Regions from separate parts of the Homo sapiens genome. Here region 2 is linked to region 1. The links are contacts of gene promoters, found by promoter capture Hi-C in blood cells and fetal thymus (Javierre and others, 2016). All regions are on one chromosome and are shown on one strand. The core of a region is centred on a gene start or on the middle of the fragment in contact, and the rest is flanking DNA. Distances in the headings are between cores, read along the strand shown.

The links. Contacts are between HindIII fragments. The CHiCAGO score rates a contact against its expected background, and 5 or more counts as called.
Region 2: a fragment that was not itself captured here is called in contact with the fragment with the promoter of CHLSN in region 1 in 2 of 17 cell types (M2 macrophages and naive B cells); the score reaches 8.1 in M2 macrophages.

The regions. Positions count from the first base shown.
Region 1 is chr7:1,135,852-1,140,853 of GRCh38, forward strand. It overlaps CHLSN (cholesin), which reads right to left and starts at 2,396. Exons shown (of 5, transcript NM_001318252.2): 1 at 1,464-2,396. RefSeq lists silencers at 1,956-2,005, 2,016-2,465, 2,666-2,805 and an enhancer at 2,526-2,625. The HindIII fragment of the contact is 2,681 bases long and covers 989-3,669 here.
Region 2 is chr7:787,235-792,236 of GRCh38, forward strand. LOC124901567 (a long non-coding RNA gene) reads left to right here and starts at 2,219. Exons shown (of 2, transcript XR_007060175.1): 1 at 2,219-2,289. The HindIII fragment of the contact is 873 bases long and covers 1,668-2,540 here.

The DNA of each region.
Region 1 (5,002 bases), core at 1,146-3,645:
TATTTATATAAATATATAAAAATATATATGAATATATAAATATATAAGTATATATAAAAATATATATAAGTATATATAAATATATAAGTATATATAAATATATATAAATATATATAAGTATATATAAATATATAAGCATATATAAATATATATATAAAATATATATGTATATATAAATATATGTATAAATATATAAGTATATATAAATATATATAAATATAAGTATATATAAATTTATATAAATGTGTATATAAATATATATACATAAATATATATAAATATATACATAAATATATAAATATATATACATAAATATGTATAAATATACATAATTATAAATATATACACAAATATATAAATATATATAAACATATATAAATATATAAAATATATATAAATATATATAAACATATATAAATATATAAAATATATATAAATATATATAAACATATATAAATATATATAAACATAAATATATAAATATATAAACATATAAATATATATAAACATATATATAAATATATATAAATATATAAACATATATATAAATATATATAAACATATATATAAATATATATAAACATATATATAAATATATATAAACATATATAAACATATATAAATATATAAACATATATAAACATATAAATATATATAAACATATATAAATATATATAAACATATATATGAACATATATAAACATATATAAACATATAAACATAAACATATATAAACATATATAAACATATATAAATATATATAAATATATAAAAATAAATATATATATGCGGATGTGTGTATAAACTGTGTATATATATAACTATATATATAACCATATATATGTACTTATATATATCATCTACACATATATCATCTCAAGCTTAAGAATTCGTAATCAATACCCCTGATCACCCTCCACAAACCTGAGCTTCCTAGTGTTCATCCTCTCCATAAACATCCATCTGATGAGGTTCACATAGTAGCTCAAGCTTAAAACCTTGGTCCATCCATAAATCCTCTCTTTCTCACATACTCGTCCAACCCACCACAAACTCCTGTTGGTTTACCACTGAAATACACCCAGAATGTGACTCCCTTAAGATCCCATAGGTACCCAGTCCAAGCCACCACCTCTCACGATGGCTTTTAAACTCCTAAATCAGATGGTGTGTCACCTCCACTCAAAAAACTTCCCAAGCTGTCCCCTTCCACTTGGAGGGAAAGTCAAGGTCCTTGCCACTTGGTAAGGTCCACACGACTGCCCTGGCCCCTCCTCGCATCTCTGGGAACTCACCTCCTCTTTCTCTCTCTGTTCCCAAATTGGCTGCAGCCACACTGGGCTCCCTGCTGTTTCCCCTGCACCTGCTGTTTCCTCGACCTGGAATGTTCTGGTGCCTCACTCCTCCTCCTGCTTCCTTTCCATTCTCAAAACCCCTGTTCTCATCTTCTCCATGGCACTTACCATCACCTGCTCTGTGCACCTTGTTCATCTGTCTCTCCCCTCCAGAATGGAAGTTCACTAGATCACAGACTTGTCTCCACTTGTTGACAGCTGTAGCCCAATGCCCCGAACAGTGCAGGAGGAACCCAATGAACGTTTTTTAAAAATGAATGAATGAATGACGGAAGGAAGGAAACGGAAAGCATGCTTATGATGGAAAGTGAGGCCAAGCGCGTTGGCTCACTCCTGTAATCCCAGCACTTTGGGAGGCCGAGGCAGGAGGATCCATCGCTTGAGCCCAAGAATTCGAGACCAGCCTGGGTAACATGGTGAGACCCCATTTCTACAAAAAACATTTTTAAAAATTATCCGGGTGTGGTGGCGCGCGCATGTGGTCCCAGCTACTTGGGAGGATGAGGCGGGAGGACGGCTTGAGCCCAGGAGGTGGAGGCTGCAGTGAGCTATGATCACGCCATTGCACTCCAGCCTGGGTGGCACAGCGAGACACTGCCTCAAAAATTGAAAAAGAGAAAGTGGGAGCTGAAAGCCTCGGAGGGCAATCAGGGCGTCTTCAGAGAAAGACAATGAAACCAGAGCCACTGCAAGCCCTGACGGCCTGAAACCTAGGAGCCAGCTGAGTCCCTTCCACTCGCCCGCGCTGAGTTAACCCAGAGGCGGGTGCGGGTGTCGGAGCCCGCGCCGGGACGCACCGGCCGCACCGGCCGCACCAGCCTCCCCAGCACCGCGGACCCCAGGGCCGCCGCCCGGTCGCGCCGCGCCGGGCCTCCGCGCACCCACGTGGAGGGGGCGGAGCCCCGCGGGAGCCCGCCCCGGGGCTCTGGGTCTCCTGGCGCCCTGACCCGCCGGCCACCCCGCCGCCGCCCCACGCGCCTACCTGCGCCCACCTGCGCCCACGTCGCCCACCTAAGCGTGAACAGCTGCGTCGCGGACGCCGCCTTCCGGCAGGGACCCGCGCCCCAGGTAAGCGTTAGTCCCGCCTTCAGGAGTGCGGAGCCTCCCATTGGACGAGGTCTGCGTCCGTCTCTCCGCCGGCTAATGGCAAGCGGCGGCAGCACGGGGGGCGGTTCCAGGACCGGGCGCGGGCTACTGACGCCATCTCTAGAGGCCTAGAGTTGCTTGGAGAGGAGCTGGTTGCCAAGGCAACCCGCCCTGCCCAGAACAAGTGCAGATGACTAGGTTTGGGCCCCGCAGGGCTTGGGGGTCTGGGGTGCAAGCTGCCCCGGCCGGGCTGGCGTCCCGGGGTGGGGCCTCCGCCGAGGGTCCAGGGTATGGAGCTCGGCTCGGAGTCGAAATGGATGAGCTACGGCTATTGGGATCAACAGGGCTAGGACTTAAACTTCGTGCTGAATTTAAAAAATCAGGATAGGTGCTAAAAAATACACAGGGTGGGTAGTGTTATAATAATGCTTGTGTCCGGGAGCGGTGACTCACGCCTGTGATCCCAGCATTTTGGGAGGCCCAGGCGGGCGGATCGCTTGAGCTCAGGAGTTCGAGACCCGCCTGGCCAACATGACGAAACCCCGTAACCCCGTCTCTGCTAAAAATACAAAAATTAGCCAGGCGTGGTGGCAGGTGCCTGTAATCCCAGCTACTCGGGAGGCTGAGGCAGGAAAATCGTTTAAGCCCGGGAGGTGGAGGTTGCAGTGAGCCGAGATCGTGCCACTGCACTCCAGCCTGGGCGACAGAATGAGACTCTGTTTTAAAAAATAAAAAATAAATTAAAAAAATAAAAATTAGCCGGGTATGGTGGCACGTGCCTGTAGTTCCTGATACTCTGGACGCTGAGGTGGGAGGATCGCTGGAGCCTGGGAGATGGAGGCTGCAGTGAGCTATGATCAAGGCACTGCACTCCAGCCTGGGCAACAGAGCCAGACCCCGTCTAAAAAAAAAAAAGAAAAAAAAGCATGCTTTCAAGTCACCCAGTAAGTTAAGTGCTTGGCAGCCGTATCAAGTATGATGTACGTTGCCTCAGGAATCCAAAGGTGACAAGCAAAGAAGGTGCACTCTTCCTTACTGGTAGAAGATTGTATTTGGTTCCTTTTTCTGCATAACAAATTAACCCAACATTTAGCAGCCTAAAAGAACATTTATTTTTTCATGGTATCCGCGGTCAGGAAAGTGGGCGTGGCTAAGCTCTGTGCCTTTGCCTCAAGGGTTCACCAAGTTGTGGTCAAGGTGTCCCCCCAGGGTTGTGGTTTCATCGGAAAGCTTATCTGGAATGATCCACTCCCAAGCTCACACACACGGATATTGTAAGGACTCAGTCCTCCAAGGTCATTAGAGAAGGGCCTCAGCCTTGCTGGCTGCTGCCCAAAGGCCACCCTCAGTTCCTTGGTACATGGGCCTTACCACAAGGAAGCTCACAACACTGCAGCTGGCTTGCCTTAGACGGTGCAAGCACACACAAGAGGAGGCACACACAAGACGCACATCACAGTCTCCTTGCACCCTAATCTCAGAAGTGACTTCCCTAGGCTTTTGCCATATTCTGTTCATTAGAAGTCGGCCGGGTGCGGTGGCTCACACCTGTAATCCCAGCACTTTGGGAGGCTGAGGTGGATGGATCACTTGAAGTCAGGAGTTCAACACCAGCCTGGCCAACGTGGCAAAACTCCATCTCTACTAAAAATACAAAAATTAGCCAGGCATGGTGGCATGTACCTATAATCCCAGCTACTCAGGAGGCTGAGGCATCAGAACCTATTGAACCCGGGAGGCAGAGGTTGCAATGAGCTGAGACCGCGCCACTGCACTCCAGCCTGGGCGACAGAGCAAGACTCCAGCTCAAAAAAAAAAAAAAAAAAAAAGTGAATCATGGCCAGGTGCAGTGACTCAGGCCTGTAATCCCAGCTCTTTGGGAGGCTGAGTCAGGAGGATGGATGGACACCAGGAGTTCAAGACCAGCCTGGGCAAACAGTAAGACCTCATGTCTACAAAAATAAAAATAGAAAATTAGCTGGGTGTGGTGGTGCACGCATATAGTCCCAGCTACTTAGGAGGCTGAGGTGGAAGGATTGCTTGAGCCTGGAAGATGGAGGCTGCAGTGAACTATGATCACACCACTGCACTCCAGCCTGGGTGAAAAAAAAAAAGGAAAAAAGGAAAATAATTTTTTTTCATTTTTATTTTTGGAAATTGATATGGTTTGGCTGTGTCCCCACCCAAATCTCATCTTGAATTGTATCTCCCATAATTCCCATGCATTGTGGGAGGGACCTGGTGGGACATAATTGAATCATGGGGGCAGTTTCCCCCATACTGTTCTCTTGGTAGTGAGTAAGTCTCATGAGATCTGATGGTTTGATAAGGGGAAACCCCTTTTGCTTGGTTCTCATTTTCTCTCATCTGTTGCCATGTAAGATGTGCCTTTTGCCTTCCGCCAAGACTGAGAGGCCTCCCCAGCCATGTGGAACTGTGAGTCCATTCAACTTCTTTTTATTTATAAATTACCAGTCTCAGGTATGTCTGAATAGCAGTGTGAATACTGACTAATACAGAAATGCTGAAAGGACTTGGATGCAATGACATCCCAGTGGCAC
Region 2 (5,002 bases), core at 854-3,353, 350 kb before region 1:
CTGGGTTGGGGGAGGTCAGCCTTGGGGGGTGTCTGGGTTGGGGGAGGTCAGCCTTGGGGGGTGTCTGGGTTGGGGGAGGTCAGCCTTGGGGGGTGTCTGAGTTGGGGGAGGTCACTCTTGGGGGGAGTCAGGGTGGGAGGAGGTCACTCTTGGGGGGTGTCTGGGTTAGGGGAGGTCACCCCTGGGGGGTGTCAGGGTTGGGGGAGTTCAGCCTTGGGGATGGCTGGAGTGTCCGGATTGGGAGGTCAGCATGTATAGCTGAGCCTGCCCCATGGACTCACATCCCCTGCCCTAGACACCCTCGCCACCCTCTGGTCCCCTTCAGAGTTGCACCGTCATGGCTGTTCCCTGCGCCAGCTTCTGTAACTCGTGGCCACAGGGATTTCGGGGGCCCTCAGGGGTGGTCTTCCACCTCTTCCTTGTGTGCCCTTTGACCTCTGTGGCTTCTGCCACATCCTTGAAGAGCCCTCAAGAGCCCCTGGGTCGGTGGTCCTTGGTGGCGATGGAGCCAGTGGCAGCAGCCTCACCTGGAAGCTTGTTAGAAAGGCACATTGCAGGGCCTCAGGCCAGACCTACTGAGGCAGAGACAGGTGGGCCGCAGTCAGCCCTGCAGGTGATTCTGAGGCTGCGGACTGGGAGGACCCCCACCTGTGCACCAAGCAGTTCCCATCCAGCTCCCATCCAGCACGAGGCTCCGTCGTCTGTCTCTGTCACAAGACCCAGAAATGAATGGCAGGGAGCTTGCCCGAGAGGACACACGTGTGAGGGGCCCCTCGACCCCTCGGACGCAAGTGCACCAACCCCTGGGCCGTCCCTCGCCCTGCATGCTGGGGCCACAGCATGGGAAGAGACATCAGCGCTGCCGCTCCGTCTCTACACATCTGTAAAGGGAGCTCCCAGGGACCTGGCACGTCCACAGGTGCGTGTGTTCAGAGAAAGACGGAAACCCAGCCTACAAGGGTTCACAGACACCCAAGAGGCATTACGTCCCTCTCCACTTAATTCTTTGAAATGTTGATAGGCCGGGTGTGGTGGTTCATGCCTGTAAAATCCAGCACTTTGGGATGCTGAGTGGAGAGGATCACTTGAGCCCAGGAGTTCGAGACCAGCCTGGGGAACAGAGGGAGACCCCATCTCTACCAAAAATTTTTAAAATGAGCCGGGCGTGTTGGTGGCCCATGCCTGTAATCCCAGCACTTTGGGAGGCCAAGGCGGGCAGATCTCTTGAGGCCAGGAATTCAAGACCAGCCTGGACAGCATTGGGAAACCCCGTCTCTACAAAAAAATTTTAAAAATGAGTGGGCATGGTGGCGCACACCTGCAGTCTGAGCTACTCAGGAGTCTGAGATGGAAGAATCACCCGAGCCTGAGAAATCGAAGCTGCAGTTACCCAAGATTGCACTCACTTTTTTTAAACAAGTGAGACCTTGTTTAAAAAAAAAATTTTGTAAATCATAAATGAGTGCATTAATACAACATGTACTTTTTTTGTCTTGCCTCTTTCACTCATCAGTTTTGATGTCCATCTATGTTGGGGTGTCCATCAATAGTTCATTCCTTTTTGCTGCTGCGTAATATTCCATTCTATAGATAAGCCACAGTGTGTTCACCCACTCAGCTTTTGACGTGTGTTTGAGGTCTTTCCAGGTTTTGGCTATTACAAATAAAGCTTCTTCCAACATTTGTGTACATGTCTTTGTATGGATAGGTACTTTCATTTCTCTTGGATAAACATCTAGTAGAATGGCAGTCATGGTGGATGTATACTAAATTTTTAAGAAACTACCATTCTATTTTCCAGAGTGGCGGGACCATTTCCACCAGCCCTGTGCAAGAATTCCAGTTCCTCCCATATTTGCCAACACTAGCTAATCAGTTTTTAATTTTAGCCATTTTAATAGGTACATAGTTGTATCTCATTATGGTTTTAGTTTGCATTTCCCTAATGTCTAATGAGGCTGAGCATCTTTTCATATGCTTATTTGCCATCTGTGTATCTTTTTTGGTGAAGAGTCTTTTTAAATATTGACATGGTTTGGCTGAGTGTCCCCACCCAAATCTCATGTTGAACTATAATTCCCAGTGTTGAGGGAAGGACCTGGTGGGAGGTGATTGGATCATGGGGATGGATTTCTCCCTTGCTGTTCTCATGATAGTGAGTTCTTATGAGATCTGGTTGTTTAAAAGTGTGCCTTCTCTCTCCCGTCGCCATGTGAAGATGTGCCTGGTTCCCCTTCACCTTCTGCCATGATTGGAAGTTTCCTGAGGCCTCCCCACCCATGGAGAACTGTGAGTCAATTAAACCTCTTTTCTTCATAAACAAGCCAGTCTCAGGTAGTTCTTTATGGCAATGTGAGAACGGACTAATACAAATATCTTGCCCATTTAGACAAAACTGGGTTGTGTTCTTCCTGAATATTGAGAATTCTTCATATATTCTAGGTACAAGTCCTTTATCATATATCTATGATTTGCAAATATTTTCTCTCATTCCATAGCTTGTCTTTTCATTATTTTAACAATGTCGTTTGAAGAAGATAAGCTTTTTATTTTGAATGAAGTCTAATTTATCAATTTCTTTTTTAATGGATTGTGCTTTTGGTGTTGTATCTAGGAAATCTTTGCCTAACCCAAGGACACAAAGTCTTCAGTTCCTGAAGCTCAAAAAGCTGTTGTTGCCAGGCACAGTGGCTCACGCCTGTAATCCCAGCACTTTGGGAGGCCAAGGTGGGAGGGTCGCTTGAGCCCAGCTTGGGAATCATAAGGAGACCCTGTCTCTCCAGAAAAAAAAAAAAAAAAAACTAACCTGGCATGTTGGTGCATACCTGTAATTCCAGCTACTCGGGAGGCAGAGGCGGGAGGATCTCCTGGGCCTAGGATGTTGAGGCTGTAGTGAGCTACGATTGCACCACTGCACTCCAACCTGGGCAATCGTGCGAGACCCCATCTCAAACAAACAAACAAAAAGCTCTTGTCATAGGCCAGGCACGGTTGCTTATGCCTGTAATCCCAGCACTTTGGGAAGCCAAAGGCTGGTGGATCACTTGAGGTCAGGAGTTCAAGACCAGCCTGGCCAAGATAGTGAAACCTCATCTATACTGAAAATACAAAAATTAGCCGGGGCTGGTGGTGGGCGCTTGTATCAAAGCTACTCAGTAAGCTGAGGTGAGAGAATTGCTTGAACCCAGGAGACGGACGTTACAGTGAGCTGAGATCACGCCACTGCACTCCAGCCTGGGTGACAGAGTGAGACTCTGTCTCAAAAAAATAAATAAAAACAACTCATCTATTTGTTCTTACCTACACTGTGATTCAAAGGCAATTTCTACTTCCCTTTGTAATCCCCTTTCTGTGACCTAAATGAAGAGCTGAGGTTACTGGAGGGTGGGAGCTGGTTGGTTGAAGAAAAAACACTCACCTTTTTGTAGCCAAAGACAGCCTTCTATATCAGTATGGGATGATCTCCAAAACACATTGTTAATTTTAAAAAACAAGGAGCACAGGCTGGGTGCGGTGGTTCACGCCTGAAATCCCAGCACTTTGTGAGGCCGAGGCGGGCAGATCACGAGGTCAGCAGTTCGAGACCAGCCTGGCCAACATAGTGAAACCCCGTCTCTACTAAAACTACAAAAATTAGCTGGGTGTGGTGGCGCATACCTGTAATCCCAGCTACTCGGGAGGCTGAGGCAGGAGAATTGCTTGAACCTGGGAGGTGGAGGTTGTGGTGAGCCGAGATCTTGCCACTGCACTCCAGCCTGGGCGACAAAGTGAGACTCCGTCTGAAGAAAAAAAAAAAAGGGAGCTGCTTCTTTTGCTTAGGCATAAAAAATTTCTGGAGGGGACAAAAGAAACCAGTTGAACAGTGAGGCCTCTGGAGAAGGGACCTGAGTGCCCCAGGGACTGGAGTGAGAGTCCAGTCTTTACCTCTTGGTACCATGGAATTTACTCCTCTCGGTTCCATGGAATTTACTCCTCTCGGTACCATGGAATTTACTTTTAGTGCACGTATTTATTACCCAGTCAAAAACAACTCTGCTGAGACTAACCTGTAATCGAAGCCTCACTGACACCTGATGCTGTTCTCGGCTCACAAGTCAGCACACTTGTTTCTTCTGTATCACGAACCCCTGTCCCAGGGAAGGGTGTTCAGGATGTCAAAGCAAAAGCTTTATCAGAAAGTTGTCTTGGGCAGGGTGTGGTGGCCCACGGCTGTAATCGCAACACTTTGGGAGGCTGAGGCAGGAGGATTGCTTGAACCTGAAAGTGGAGGCTGCAGTGGGTCTTGATGGCATCATGGCACTCCAGCCTGGGTGACAGAACAAGACCCCATCTCAAAGCAAACAAACAAAACTTGTCTTATTGAGAAATGAAAATGCAGAGACTTGTAGCCAAGTGCTCATAGCAGCTTTATTCTAGCCTCAAATTGGAAAAAACCCAAATGTCCATCAACAGTCCATCTGCAGTATAAACAAACTACAGTCTATCCAGACAACAGAATACGATTCTGTAGTCGAACGACAGGGCACACTGCAACGGAGACAGCTCCCACAGACACCAGGCCAGTGAGGAAAGACTGTATCTCATATAATTTATATGGAACTCGAGAACAGGCAAAGCTGTTCTATAGTCCTTTCTTTTTTCCTCTGAGCCAGGGTCTCACTCTGTCACCCAGGCTGGAGCACAAGGGTGCCCTCACAGCTCACTGCAGCCCCAGCCTCCCAAGCTCAAGCGATCCTCCCGCCTCAGCCTCCGGAGTAACTGGGACTACAGATGCACACCACCACCCCCAGCTAATTTTTTATTTTTAGTAGAGACGAGTTCTCACTATGTTGCCCAGACTGGTCTCGAACTCTCCGGCTGAAACGAACCTCCTAACTCAGCCTCCCAAAGTGCTGGGAGGACAGGCATGAGCCGCTGTGCCCAGCCTACTCCTTTTTAAATCACCGAATCAATGATGACTATATGGAGGCTCTTTATGTTTATTATATTATTCTCTCTACTT